Linked DNA regions of Homo sapiens: region 2 is linked to region 1. The links are contacts of gene promoters, found by promoter capture Hi-C in human tissues and cell types (Jung and others, 2019). All regions are on one chromosome and are shown on one strand. The core of a region is centred on a gene start or on the middle of the fragment in contact, and the rest is flanking DNA. Distances in the headings are between cores, read along the strand shown. Region 1 holds the start of PCK1 (phosphoenolpyruvate carboxykinase 1). Region 2 has its middle 47 kb from the start of EDN3.

Region 1 (2,910 bases), core at 216-2,715:
GTCACCAGCCCCCTGGGTTAGAAGAGGCCACTGGAAAGTGAACAGCCTGCTGAAATTAAAGAGTTTTCATAAATGTGCAATTGGGTCCCACCAAGCTATTTAAAACCCATATGCATGGAACTAGTTTTCACGTTTGTATAAGACAGTCTGTAAAAGCAGAAGAGGGATGTGCATTTTCAATACATTGCCAACTTCATGTATGGAACTGAAAGACATCTGAGGTGGTGGGAGCTTCCATTATTGTTTGAATTACCATTAGGATAGATGTAAATAAGAAAAGGCTCTCTGCTGTTTTACCCAATCAAATCAATGTTCCGCTCACCTTTCATGCACCCTGGGAACCTGGCATTGAACGCTTTCTCAAAATCCTCCTCTGACATCCAGCGACCGAGCTGGCTGAGGCCTGTTTTGGGGATGGGCACTGTGTCTCTTTGCTCTTGGGTGACGATAACCGTCTTGCTTTCGATCCTGGCCACATCCCTGGGGTCAGTGAGAGCCAACCAGCTGCAAAAATCACAGGCTTCCTTTCAGCCAAGCACCACGGGCAGCGAACCATCTCCTTCAGTACCGTGGCTTTCCATGCCTAGCAGAGTGCTGAGCACGCTAACAACAGTCCATCAGTGTGAACACACAGACCATCTAAGACATGGCCAGGTGGACATTTACTCCACTAGGACCTGGTCTGTAGGAGAGGGGCTGCCTTTTTTTTAATCAGGAATCTAGTTGGCAGAGCTTTTGTGCACACACCTCATTTAAAGCTTGGGCTGGCCCACTAATGTCACAAAATTCAAGTCTGTATGGTTCTGACCATTGCATTCATCTTCTCAAGAGTCTGAAACTACCCGAAGGCCTTCATTCACCTTTCTCCACCAACTCCCAGGAGACGCAGGGGAGCCCTGCCTGCAGGGTGCTGGGACAGGCAGCGGGGGCCGAGCTTACCAGTTGTCATACTTCTTCAGCCGCCTGAGGATGCCCTCTTCCTCCATCTGGCCCAGAAGCCGCCCATTCTCCTCCTCAGAGCCGTCACAGATGTGGATGTGATCAGGCTGACACAGCTCAGCGTTATTCTCGAGAAACTCCCTCACTGCCTGGGGTAGGCTGTCCAGGCTTCCCTGGACAACTTTGGCCGAGAGGTTCAGGCCGTTTTGCAGCTGAGGAGGCATTTCTGCAGAGTGCTGCTAAGGGGCACGAATGTGAGGTCACCTGAAATAGAAAACGCAAGCGTCCTGAACAAAAACAACAACAGACACCTTCAAACACATTCGACGGCCTTTTGCCAGGGCTGTGCATTGCCAAATAGTTATTGCTCTCAGGAAAAAAATGAGTTCATCTTTGTAATTTTTCAAAATGTAAATGCAAAGCTCTACTTACCTTTCTTCTCTTTGGATGATCTCGAAGGGAGATCCACAGGTTTCTTTCCGGGCTCTTCCCGCCAGCAAGTTTGTGTTCCCAGTGGGAAGGCCGTGCTTGGTGGCAGAACCTCCCAGCTTTAAATACTGTGGAAAAGAATAGCCCTGCCCCTCAGCTGCACCCAGGGAGGCTCGCCACTGACGTCAGGGGGCAGGTCTCTGGATCACGGCCAGGGTCAGTTATGCTTTGGGCCAACTCACTGCAACACGCCCCAGGGAGATAATCATTGAACAGATAGTTGTTAATGAATGCTGGGAGACTTCGAGCCCTCAACCAACCATAGTGAGTTTTGACACAACTTCCAACTGACTAAACCTTGACCCATTTTACTGCTGTTGCAAAACACAACACCCTTTTCTTAACAGGCAGGTGGGTCAAGGACAAGGTTGGCCGGGGCACCTGCTAGCAGCACATTTTGTGTACCAAGAGCTGCTGGTTGGCAAAACACCACAGCTATAAGATGTCACCCCATAGTCAAAGGTCACAGTCAAAGTTCATGGGAAGGATGCACCCTAACTTGGGCAAATATGTGGCTTATTGGCAAAGATTGGAAATGCCTAACCTAACTGGGGGCTAATCACTGTATTGATTGTCTGCTCTGTGCCGCCCCCGCCCCCTGCCCCGATGTAAACTCCATGAGGGCAGGGATTTCTCCCTATTTTGTTCATTTTTCTCTCTGTAGTGCTTGGCATAGAGTAGGCACAGGATGCACACATGCTGAGCACTGTTCTAAGAGCTTGGCATCATTACTACCCTCTGAGGTGGAGGCTATGAACAACCCATGTACAGATAGGGAAACTGAGGCAGAGATTGTGTAGCCACTCACAGCCGGCTGGTGGGTTGCAGAGTGAGGATCTGAACATGAGCAAGTTGGGCCCTGGAGCACCACGTCTCTCCCTGTGAGGTACCGCCACCTTTCCAGAACCTTCCCTGTGTCCTCCAGGGAGTTCTGGGCTGAGTGCAGTTACTCCTGCAGTCCACTGGCCACTGTTCTCTTCCCTGGCAAGTCTTAGAGTTTAGGGAGTGGAGGGGGCTTGGCAGTTTTGCTAGATTATATGCTTAAGCAATGAAACCTTTATAACAGTTGTAAAGAATTTGCTTTGCAAGCCATCAGACCTTCAGTCAAATTTAATGAGCTATGGAAGCTGCTTGCTGGAGTTTGGAGAACACAGGGTGAAATGTCAAAAGAACGGGGCTAGGTCTCAACCCCCCACAGCCAGCCCACACTTCCATGGAAGCCTCTCTACCTAAGATGAGGTCAGGTGGGGACTTGGCCCATCTCCCCGCTGGGGTGTGGGATGATCCCTGAGATAATCCCAGGACTGGGCTTAGAAAGAGCTGCTGTGGCAAATACAAGTCACTGTGAATGGCAGCCTCCGACCAAACTCACTTAGAGAACCCTCCTGGGGGCTTGGGTCACACTGTGTTGGGCGTGGGTCACACATCATCAAGTTCCACCAAAATTATCAACCCATTGCTATGTTTCCTGTATTCAGATTT
Region 2 (2,700 bases), core at 3-2,502, 1.8 Mb before region 1:
CCGCAGGGCCCTTACTATGTGCCAATCACTGTTCTAATGAAATGAATTAATTTATTGATCCTCACCACAACTCTTTAAGGCAGGTACTATGATTATTATTTCTCCGTACTTTAAAGATGAGCAAATTAATGCTTGAAGGAGTTACATGCTTGGCTCAAGGCCACAGGGCTAGCAGGCAGCAGAGCAGGAATAAGAACAGCTCTGGTCCAAACCCCCTCCACTCTCCTGTGCCTCATCAACCTATAGTAGACACCCATGGGGGCAGATGAACATTTGTGTTGAGACGTGATGCTGGTTATGAACCTCAGTACCTACCCAGGACCCAATCTAGCCCCTTACAGAGGCCCCAAGTATGTCTGGATGACCCTGGAGCCTGCCAGCTTCAGTCCTCTCAAAGGACCCTCCCTGATCGGCCCTTCTGTCTCTGCCACCTCTTGTGCATCTCAGTGTCTTCCCTCTCCAGGAGCTGCCCAAGGGACTCTCGATGTTGGCCAGGGTGATAGATGCATCTGCCAAAGGAGCTGCCTTCCAGTAACCCCAGTTCCACAAACCCTAGAAAACCAAGAGTTAGGATGGATTCCTCTCCCCAACTTGTGGTCATAATTTATCACCTGGGCACAAAAATGGGGCTGCTTGAGCCCAGAGTCTTGCAAAATCCCTGTGGAAATCAATGTCCTTTGTTTGTGGCCTTAAAACCTCTCACCATCCAAACTTTAAATCCAGGCCAGGGGGCTAGTGAGGTAGTGTCACCATCAAGGGTGCTGTCATCCTCCTTCTCTCCTCTGCTAAGTACCCCACACAGACTTTCCATGCCCCTTCTCTAGAAAGCCAGAGCCCCAGTGCTTAACTCATGAAAAGAATCCCTCATCCCAAAAGGAAGGGCACAATGTGACCAAACAATCTAAATGCATTGCAAATGTTTGAGACAACCCCACAGAAAAGGAAAGGTACTGACTTTAGTAACTTTGGAAATGAGTGAAGTCAGTAACACTAAAGACAAAAGGAACTGTACAGAAGCACTTGACTCGAGCTGATAAGGTTGCTTCCCACAGGGTCAAGAGAGGCACCATTGAATAATTCTGTTACTAATATCCATGTCCCTGGCAACTGAATAATGAAGTAAATGGACAGAAGATGGTGAACACCAGCTTTTCACCACTGGAGTGAGATAAGCAAGGGGTGGAGGCCAAATGATCCATGTGGTGATGGATTAGAGTTGGAGACATTAGTGTGAACTCACGTTGAGCTTTACATGGATACAGGTGGTTCCAAATAAAAATATTTATAGATCTGTGCATATACATGGGTTAATATGCACAATCGGATCCCCTTACTCTGTCAGCTGAGATAGTCTACAAGCAACAGCATCCCTATAGCAATGAGCCCACCTGTACCCAGATCTTGGTTTCTAATATCATTGTCCAGTAAAAGGAACAAAGGACCCTTGGGAAAGTAGCTTCTTGTAGGACTGATACAAGATGACCTTGGGGTGTCTTATAGTGCCAGAAAGTAAGGAAATGGTAAAGCAAGTAATAAAGATCCCACTAACAACGATGAGACTATGTCAAAGGGACACAGGAGCCAGCTGAAAGAGCTCCCCGTGCCCAAAGCTGGGACAATTTGTGCAATAAAATACATAAAATGTTATTGAATTGTAACCCAAAGTAAAAATAAATATCCATGAGACCACACTGATTAAATAAATGATTGACTAAGTAAATAAATTCGAGAACAGAGATAAATCTCCCAGGCAGAAGAATTCCAAATAGTTTATGTAGATACTGTGCCCTCGGGGAGATGGAGGATGACCGGCTACTTCTTAAGTGTGGCTGCACAGTGACCTTCCTCCAAAGTGTGTAATGAAGGACCAGACCTAATGTTGGAGGACAAGAGGCCCTCTTGATACTTCAGACAAGATCTGAGGATGAGAAGGAATTTGCAGACTTGGTGCATGGTGGTGGAGATGTAGGGAAGCACATCCCAGGCACAAGTAACAGCATGGGCTAAGACTCTGAGGCAGGGAGGAAGCATCTTTGAAGGAGCAGTGAGAAAATCAGGGATGGGACTCAAACTACAATGCACAGATACAAAGTGGGCACCATCAATGAGAACAACACGTGCGTAGGCTCTCACAGGGTTCCAGAGCTCTCCAGACAGACAAGCTTTATCCATAGATTGGGAGAGGTCCCGAAGGTTCCTGGGGAGGGTTAGAAGTGGGCTTTTGGGAGCTCAGGGTGGTGGTTATTTAATAACCAGCAGGGAAGGCTGCACAATTCTAAACGGGGGTAGGGGAACAGGAAATCTTTCCGTAAAAGGCCATGTAGTATGTATCTTAGACTTTGTGAGTCACATGGTTATTAAAACTACTCAACTCTGCCATTGTGTCAAGAAAGCAGCCACAGACAATTGGCAGATGAACAGGCATGAATGTGTTCCAATAAAACTTTATTTGTGGACACCAGAATTTGAATTTCATATCATTATTTGTATCAAAAAAATATTCTTCTTTTGACTTTTTAAAAATCAATATCACAAGCCTTATCAGAGAATTGGTCTTTTATCCCAAAGGCAAGAGAGCCTTGAGTGCAATTTTGGAAGCAAGTCCTGGACCCAGGCCTCAGGCATGTACTATTCCGGCCCTCGTGGTGCCGGGCCATGGGTGATTCTTTGCCCTAGATCATCCCTTTGGACTTTCCAGAA

What was found. Contacts are between HindIII fragments. The study calls those that stand out against the background at their distance.
Region 2: a fragment that was not itself captured here is called in contact with the fragment with the promoter of PCK1 in region 1 in 1 of the 25 tissues and cell types used here (lymphoblastoid cells).

The regions. Positions count from the first base shown.
Region 1 is chr20:57,559,665-57,562,574 of GRCh38, reverse strand. PCK1 (phosphoenolpyruvate carboxykinase 1) reads right to left here and starts at 1,465. Exons shown (of 10, transcript NM_002591.4): 1 at 1,372-1,465; 2 at 940-1,203; 3 at 323-504. The coding sequence starts at 1,163. The HindIII fragment of the contact is 15,943 bases long and covers 1-2,910 here.
Region 2 is chr20:59,346,601-59,349,300 of GRCh38, reverse strand. No RefSeq gene overlaps it. Among named protein-coding and RNA genes, the nearest start is that of EDN3, 47 kb to the right of the region's middle. The HindIII fragment of the contact is 8,722 bases long and covers 1-2,700 here.